Linked DNA regions of Homo sapiens: all the other regions are linked to region 3. Evidence: promoter capture Hi-C in 16 types of primary human blood cells and fetal thymus (Javierre and others, 2016). All regions are on one chromosome and are shown on one strand. Each heading gives the region's core, a stretch centred on a gene start or on the middle of the fragment in contact. The rest is flanking DNA. Distances are from core to core; before and after follow the strand shown. Region 1 overlaps ABCD2 (ATP binding cassette subfamily D member 2). Region 2 overlaps REDIC1 (regulator of DNA class I crossover intermediates 1). Region 3 holds the start of REDIC1 (regulator of DNA class I crossover intermediates 1).

Region 1 (2,700 bases), core at 166-2,665, 40 kb before region 3:
CAAATACTTTCTCCCATTGTGTAGGTTGTCTGTTTACTCTGTTGATAGTTTCTTTTGCTGTGCAGAAGCTCTTAAATTTAATTAGATCTCACTTGTCAATTTTTGCTTTCATTGTGATTGCTTTTGGTATCTTTGTCATGAAGTCTTTGTCTGTTTCCATGTCCAGGATAGTTTTGCCTAGGTTGTCTTCCAGGGTTTTTATAGTTTGGGGTTTTACATTTAAGTCTCTAATCCATCTTGTGTTGATTTTTGTATATGGTATAAAGAAGGGGTCCAGCTTCAGTCTTCTGCATATGGCCAGCCAGTTATCACAGCACCATTTATTGAATAGGGAGTCTTTTCCCCATTGCTTGTTTTTGTCAGCTTTGTTGAAGATTAGATGGTTGTAGATGTGCGGCCTTATTTCTGTGCTCTCCATTCTGTTTCATTGGTCTCTGTGCCTGTTTTTGTAACAGCACTATGCTGTTTTGGTTACTGTAGACTTGTAGTATAGTTTGAAGTGGGGCAGCATGATGCCTCCAGCTTTGTTCCTTTTGCTTAGGATTACCTTGGCTATTCAGGCTCTTTCTTGGTTCCAAACAAATTTTAAAATAGTTTTTTTCCTAGTTCTGTGAAGAATGTCATTGGTAGTTTGATAGGAATAGCATTGAATATGTAAATTGCTTTGGGCAACATAGCCATTTTAATGATATTGATTCTTCCTATCCATGAACATGGGATGGTTTTCCATTTGTGTCTTCTCTGATTTCTTTGAGCAGTGTTTTGTAATTCCCATTGTAGAGATCTTTCACCTTCCTGGTTAGCTGTATTCCTAGGTATTTCATTCTTTTTGTGGCAATTGTGAAGGGGATTGCCTTCCTGATTTGGCTGTTCGCTTGGCTGTTGTTGGTGTATAGCAAAGTTAGTGATTTTTGTATGTTGATTTTGTACACTGCAACTTTGCTGAAGTTGTTTATCAGCTGAAGGAGCTTTGAGCTGAGACTATGGGGTTTTCTAGATATAGAATCATGTGTCTGCAAGCAGGGATAGTTTGACTTCCTCTCTTCCTATGTGAATGCCCTTTATTTCTTTCTCTTGCCTGGCTTATCTAGTTAAAGTGTGATTATTATTATTAAATTATTTGAAAGTATCACTAAACACAGAAAGAGTATTATTAGACAATAATTCTATTTTAAGCTTATATGTACAAATGTTATTTATACTCTTTCAAAAATGTTTTATGCTGAAAAACCACAATACAGAAGTTTCTAACTTTAATTACCTGTGTGCTGCTTGAGAGCAAAAAAAGATACTGGTCAGATTGTGGGTCTGAAAACAAAAAAAGTTCTGTGGTATCTACTTCTCAAATTATTTAATTTAATGTGAGCTGAGAGCTTGTAAGGCAAATATGTCTGTCATAGACTTTACATACATCTAGACTGACAATGGCCTCAGGGACTTTGTACATTCGAATATAAAAGAAAAAAACTGTTTTTAAATGTTAGCTGCACTGACATGGAGACTTAATAAAAACTTAGTGTGTTGCATTAAACACAACACAAGCAGAAAAAGAAATGTAAATAATGGAACAGCAATAAAACTCCATCTTTACACTTATGTGCTTATTTCCGATTATAGCATACATTCAAATTAAACCACAGACTAAATATATACCCAAGCTTACTTTTTAAAAGTGAAGTTAAATGCATTAGAAAAGAATGATAGACTTTACCTCCTTCTCTTTGAACTATGTGATAGAGATGGACATTGTGTAGGATACGTTCCAGATCTTGGTCTGTATAACCTTTATCATGCATATCATCCACTGAATCAGGGTAAATGACTTGATCCCGAAGACTTCCAAGAGACATATATGGCCTTTAAAACACCAAGCACACAAGAATCCTAGTGGAAAGTCATGATAACTTACTCAGTGTGACAACTTGGTAGTCTGAAAACATCAGTGAAGACTTTAAACACTACATTTCCAGGATGATATTTGTTACCTGGCGATGAGTACTTCTCCCTCAGGCACTGCTAAACAATACCGTTATGTTTACATAAAAACTTACTGACACATGGACACAAGAAAAGCTTCTCCAAGAAATCATCTGACATTTTCTTTTTCTAAAAAATTCTATTTTATTTTATATTTTGTAGAGACAGGGTCTTGATATGTTTTCCCAGGCTAGTCTCAAACACCTGCCTCAAGTGATTCCTCCTAACTTGGCCTCCCAAAGCACTGGGATTACAGTTGTGAGCCATAGAACCCAGCCACATTTAACATTTTCAGCAGGGAAATATTGTATATACTTTGTTTCACTGTATTTGATAAAGATTGCTTCTGTAATTCATCTATAATTATTTGGGTGACATATTATACAATTTGGGTTTCGACCCAGCAATGTGAACAAACAAAACAAAAAAATTTAATTCATAGTAAGAAAAACACAAATTAAAACTACATTGAGTTTCTTACTAATCAGATTGGCAAAAATTCAACAACTTGGTAACTCACTCCACTGGCAGGCCTATGGGTAAGGGAATGTTCTCACACTACAGTGAAAATGCAGAATGGTACAACTCTTACAGAGGGGATTTGGCAAACTGACAGAGCATTTGTTGCCCTTTGACCTCCTTCTGGGAATTCACTCTGAAAATATACTTCTAAAAATACAAAAAAAGATGCATGAGGTTATTCATTACAGCTTATTTGTAATA
Region 2 (2,700 bases), core at 76-2,575, 33 kb after region 3:
TTCCTCTGCGTTTTCTAGTTTTTTTAAGAGGTAAGGTCATTGGTTTGAAACCATTCTTCTTTACTAATATAGGCATTTTAGGGCTATAAATTCTCTACTAACTGCTGTTTTTGCTGTATCTTACAAATTTTGAAATATTATGTTTTCATTTTTATTCACATCAAAATACTTTTTTTTTTTGAGACAGTGTCTAGCTCTGTTGCGCAGACTGGAGTGCAGTGGTGTGATGTTGGCTCACTGCAACCTCTGCCTCCCGGGTTCAAGTGATTCTCCTGCCTCAGCCTCTTAAGTAGCTGGGATTACAGGTGCCTCCCACCACGCCTGGCTAAGTTTTAAAAATATTTTTAGTAGAGTTGGGGTTTCACCATGTTGGCCAGACTGGTCTCGAACTCCTGACCTCAAGTGATCCACCTGCCTCAGCCTCCCAAAGTGCTGGGATTATAGGCTTGAGACACCATGCCCAGCCTGGATCAAAATACATTCTAATCTTTCTTTGGATTTCTGTTTCAATCCATGAGTTATTTAGAAATTTCGTATTTGGTTCCCAGAAACTAAGACTTTCCCATTATCTTTATGAATTAATTCCTTTGTGGACAAGGAACATACTTTGTATGATTTGATCCTTCCAAATTTATTCAGACTGGTATAGTGGCTAAGAATATGGTTTACATTTAATATGACAATGTATAGGTTTGGATTTAAGTCTGTCCTCTTGCTGTTTGCATTTTGTCCATCCCTTTGCCTCTTTTTCTACTTTTATTTAAGTATTTTTATGACTTCTTTTCATCTCTTTGTTTATTAGCTATAATTCTGTTTTATTATTGATTGCTTTAGACTTTATCAGATATATATTAATGTATCACAGATTATCTTCAAGTTATAGTATCAAGTATAGTATAAGAATCTTACAGTAGTATACTTTTTATTTCTTCTCTCCTTTGGCCTTTGTGTTATATTCGTACATTTATTTATGTGTATGTTATAAACCCAATAATGCATTGTTGTTTTGTTTTAAAGAAAGCTAAATAAGAAAATATGTTTCTTATATTTAAGCACGTAGTTGTTATTTTTAGTGGTCTTCATTATTTTGTGTAGATATAGATTTCCATCTGGTGTCATTTTCTGTTTGAAAGACTTAACATTTCTTCTATTGTAGATCTGCTGGTGATTAATGCTCTAATCTTTGTATATTTGCAAATTTCTGTTTTTGAAAGATGTCTTTTGACTTGGTGTAGTTTCCAACTAGAAGTTTGCTGTCATTATCTTAATATCTGTATATATAATATAGTTTTTATCTTTGTTTTTGTGATTTTTCTGTCATGATTTTTTAAACATTGATTTCTATTCTTTGATTAAGATATTAATTTTCTTTCTATTTCTTATGTTTGGGTTTTCTTGATCTTGGATTTGTGGACTTATTTTTATCAAAAATTTTTATCCATTATTTCTTCAAATATTTTTTCTGACTCCTTTCCTTCTCCTTGGGGGACTCAAATTGGTAAATTAGTCTACTTGAAATCTCAGTTTACTGGTGCTCTGTTTTTTCCAGTCTTTTTTCTCTCATTGTTTTATTTTATGTAGATTATATTACTATATCTTCCACGTCCATAATTGTATCTTCCGTGTGGTCTTATCTGCTGGTAATCCCATCCAGTGTAATTTTCATCTCTAGAACTTTGATTTACCTTTTCTTTTTTATCTTCCATGTATCTATTAGGCATGTTCAGTATTTCCTCTGTCTCCTTGAATACAGGAAATATAGTTATGATAACTTTTAATGTACTTGTCTACGAATTCCATTATTTTTGTCATTTCTTGATCTGTTTTTAATAATTGATTTTGCTTCTCATTATAGATCTTCTCTTTTTTGCATTCCTGGTAATTTTGTTGGATTCTATACATTATGAATTTTTATTTTTATGGCTGCTGGACATTTTTATTTTCCTGCACATCATCCTTGGAAACACTATGGTACTTGGAAACACTATGGTACTTGGAAACCCTATGATCTTATTGAGGCTTGCTTTTAAATTTTGTCAAGCAGGACCAATAAGCCTTCAGTTTGTAGTTAATTTTGCTCCACTGCTGAGGCAATACCCTTCTGAATACTTTCTTGATCCCCCTTGAATTATGAAATTTTCCACTCTAGAGGGTGGAATCAAAATTTTCCCCCCTAGTGAGCTCCTGAGATTGTTCTATTTTTCTTACCTTGGGTGGTTCTTTTCACAGCCTTCGGCAATTACTTCACATGCATGTGCCGGTTAGTATTTAGTTGAACACTTGAGAACACTCTGGATCTCTGGAGGTCTTACTCTCTGAAACACTCTCCTTTATGGTACTCTAACTTGTGAACTCTATCCTCTGCAATCTCCCTGGATCCCCAGGTGTTTCCTCAACAAAGGGAGCCTCAGTTGGGCTCTGATTAGGTTCTCTTTCCTTGTTCTGTGGCTTGAATGTTCTCTCCAGACAATAACCTAGGAACAATCACAGAGTTCTCCTCATTTGTTTTCTCTCTCTCAGGGATCATTATCTTGCTCACCTGGTCTCCTCTGACTGAAAACTGTTGTCCATATATTTTGTTCTTTTTTTTTAAATTTTTTATTGATACATATTATTTAATATTGTACATATTACTGGGGTACATGTGGTATGTTGTTGCATGCATGGAATGTGTAATAATCAGGTCAGGGTATTTAGGAT
Region 3 (2,737 bases), core at 100-2,599:
GAGTTAATCCCTTAGCAAATTATTTCCCCTTTCAGTTAATTTAGTCAATATGTTTTAAAATGTTGAAAGTAGGAAAGGCTGATACACAGGGCCATTGCTTCTTCCTTGCCTGTATGGTTTTGTTACTGAAAAAACAACTCCATGTCAAAGTCTGATATTCTCGGAAATGCTGAATTCACTTGGTCTAATTCAATTTTAGATACACCTTGGTGAATTTTGTCATAAAAAACAGGATTTTTGTGATTAAACAAGATATCTACCCTGGGACATAATCCTATTCTAAGTACTATTTTCCAATGACTTAACAAAAAATCGATTATTATATATCAAATTGTGAAATCTTCCCCAGGTTATGTTCTGGAAAAAAACATGGCAATTTAAAAAAATGTAATTTGTGCATGTATTTGGAAGAAGAGATGCCTAGTTTCTAACCAAAATAATATAGGACAGTTTGTAAGATAATTGTTTTGTAAGGATATACAAACTTAATACAGAAACAAATAGCATAATTCAATTTTTGTTTTGAGATTTTTTTTTCAGTAAGGATTTTAACATCTTTGGACTTTTACATCTAATTAAGTTTTGATCAAGCTCTTTTTTTTCCTTTCTTTCTTTTTTTTTTTTTTTTTAAGAGACAGAGTCTGCTCTGTCGCCCAGGCTGGAGTCTCTCGACTCACTGCAACCTCTGCCCTCCTGGGTTGAAGCAATTCTCCTGCCTCAGCCTCCTGAATAACTGGGGCTACAGGCGCGTCCCACCACGTCCCACTAATTTTTTGTATTTTTAGTAGAAACGGAGTTTCACCGTGTTAGCCAGGATGGTCTTGATCTGCTGACCTCGTGATCTGCCCACCTTGGCCTCCCAAAGTGCTGGGATTATAGGCGTGAGCCACTGCGCCCGGCCTGATTTAAGCTCTCTTAGCAACTCAATGCACAGAATGGTAACTTACTACAGCGCTATGTTTCTTATAAACACCTGTTTACGGAGTATTAAAACTGCACATGAAGGATATTTAAGGAATTTGGGTATGGGGTAATAAATGGGAAGGGAAACATCATTTTTAGGGTTAGCGATCCTTAACTGTGTCCTTGCCTTCTTTTTCTTTCTCAAGTCTGGTCTCTGACTCGAAAAAGACGTCAAAGACCTGTCAGAACTAGATAAAATTATGATGGAGGTGTTTTGAAACACTAATCCTGTGGCCCCTGTCAAAAATTTAGGCTTTCATTTATTTAGGCCTGCCTTGCCTCAGCGATTAAAACGATGTCAGCCAGGTCGGCTGCTTTGCCGCAGCGTCCCCTTGCGGCCCTATCAGGACCGGAAGGAACACGCAGAAGCCGCAGAGGCTGTTGGGAGGTTGGGCCTCAGGCGGTGGACCAGAAGGAGCTTACTCGGGCCCTGACGTTGTCAGGAGGCCCTGGGGGATCCTGCTGAAGCTGCGATTTGGCGCAGAGCTGAGATGTCTGAGCTCTAGACACAGGGACCTCAGTGTCAAAAGATTTGGGAAGATGAATTGGGTCGGGGGGTCCCGGTAAGTTGTGCAGCTGGAGTTTGAGGCTGGGACATTCATTCCTACGACTCCTCTTTCTAGTTCCTGGCGGAGAGGTCACAGCCTTAGCTGGAAAGAACTTGGTAGGAAAGGGTCTTTTTATTGTTATCCAAATCGGGTTGGAGACTCTAGAACCATATCTCTACTCCTCAGACAAAAGTAACTCAGCTTCTCCCCACTCACTGCCTTTACAAAGGCTTCACCTGTGGGGGCCACTGTGAGTAACCTTCCCTGCTGCCCCTCCTCCCCTTCTCCATGTCCTATGCTCTGTTACTGTAATGAGGCCTTTTAGCACCTGAGCCCTCCCCTACTGCCTTCTTTCCGTGTCTACACCTCTTTTAGGTTCTTCTGAGTTGATATATAGTCTTTGCATGAATTTGGAAATTGTGAAACAGCCCAGTCCCAGCTGCACTTAAATCAATGGCAGGGCACCAGTATCACCATAAATCCAAATTGTAGTTTGTATTTTAAGGGGAAGTAAAGTGAACCGTTTTTACTTGAATAACTTGAGCGAATTTGCCATTTATTTTGTATTTAGGATTGATCACATAAAGCGTGATAGATTGAAAATTTAGTGTTATATAACCTATTCATTGTTATTGACCTTAAAGTCCAGCTGGGTGGAAATCATGTGGGCCTGTAATTTCATTTGATCAAAATTCTTGATGAGAAGAATTGTTTTGATTGAAACAAGAAGCCATTACATGTAATTTTTTTGTCACAAGTAGACCCAGGACAGTAATTATATGTTAGATTATAATGCGTTTGAATTCTAAAGAATTTATCGGAGGAAAGACAGCTTTTGTATTCACTAAGTATTGTAGCTATGCCTGATAATTTTAGCATGCACTTTTATCCTGTTGAATATGCTAGCATTGTATTTTAGAAATTTACCTGAATTACTTCTGGCTAGTGTTCTGGCAGCAGACGTACTCTGGAGAAAAGTGAAAATTTACTTACAGGCTTCAACAGGATTTAGTTGATACATGCTTATAATGTGATCTTTTTGAATTTAGTATTCTTTAAAATATTAAATAGGATTATATGAAATAATTTTACAAATGCTTAGCACTATTAAAATGTAGATGTTGCTATTATTCTGTCATATATCACAAACTTTTATGGCTATTTTGGGAGTAATATTTTAGTTGCTACTGGGAGGATGCAAAAACAATATACTGCAGGAAACATGT

The links. The method cuts DNA at HindIII sites, captures the fragments that hold promoters and counts their contacts. A CHiCAGO score of 5 or more calls a contact.
Region 1: a fragment that was not itself captured here is called in contact with the fragment with the promoter of REDIC1 in region 3 in 3 of 17 cell types (non-activated CD4 T cells, naive CD8 T cells and total CD8 T cells); the score reaches 5.9 in non-activated CD4 T cells.
Region 2: a contact is called between a fragment that was not itself captured here and the fragment with the promoter of REDIC1 in region 3, in 3 of 17 cell types (naive CD8 T cells, non-activated CD4 T cells and total CD8 T cells). The highest score is 6.3, in naive CD8 T cells.

What each region holds. Positions count from the first base shown.
Region 1 is chr12:39,584,441-39,587,140 of GRCh38, forward strand. It overlaps ABCD2 (ATP binding cassette subfamily D member 2), which reads right to left. Exons shown (of 10, transcript NM_005164.4): 7 at 1,712-1,857. Among named protein-coding and RNA genes, the nearest start is that of ABCD2, 34 kb to the right of the region's middle. The HindIII fragment of the contact is 482 bases long and covers 1,175-1,656 here.
Region 2 is chr12:39,657,919-39,660,618 of GRCh38, forward strand. The region is part of intron 7 of REDIC1 (regulator of DNA class I crossover intermediates 1); the gene reads left to right. Among named protein-coding and RNA genes, the nearest start is that of REDIC1, 33 kb to the left of the region's middle. The HindIII fragment of the contact is 4,797 bases long and covers 1-2,700 here.
Region 3 is chr12:39,624,834-39,627,570 of GRCh38, forward strand. REDIC1 (regulator of DNA class I crossover intermediates 1) reads left to right here and starts at 1,350. Exons shown (of 13, transcript NM_001031748.4): 1 at 1,350-1,526. The coding sequence starts at 1,504. The HindIII fragment of the contact is 5,259 bases long and covers 1-2,737 here.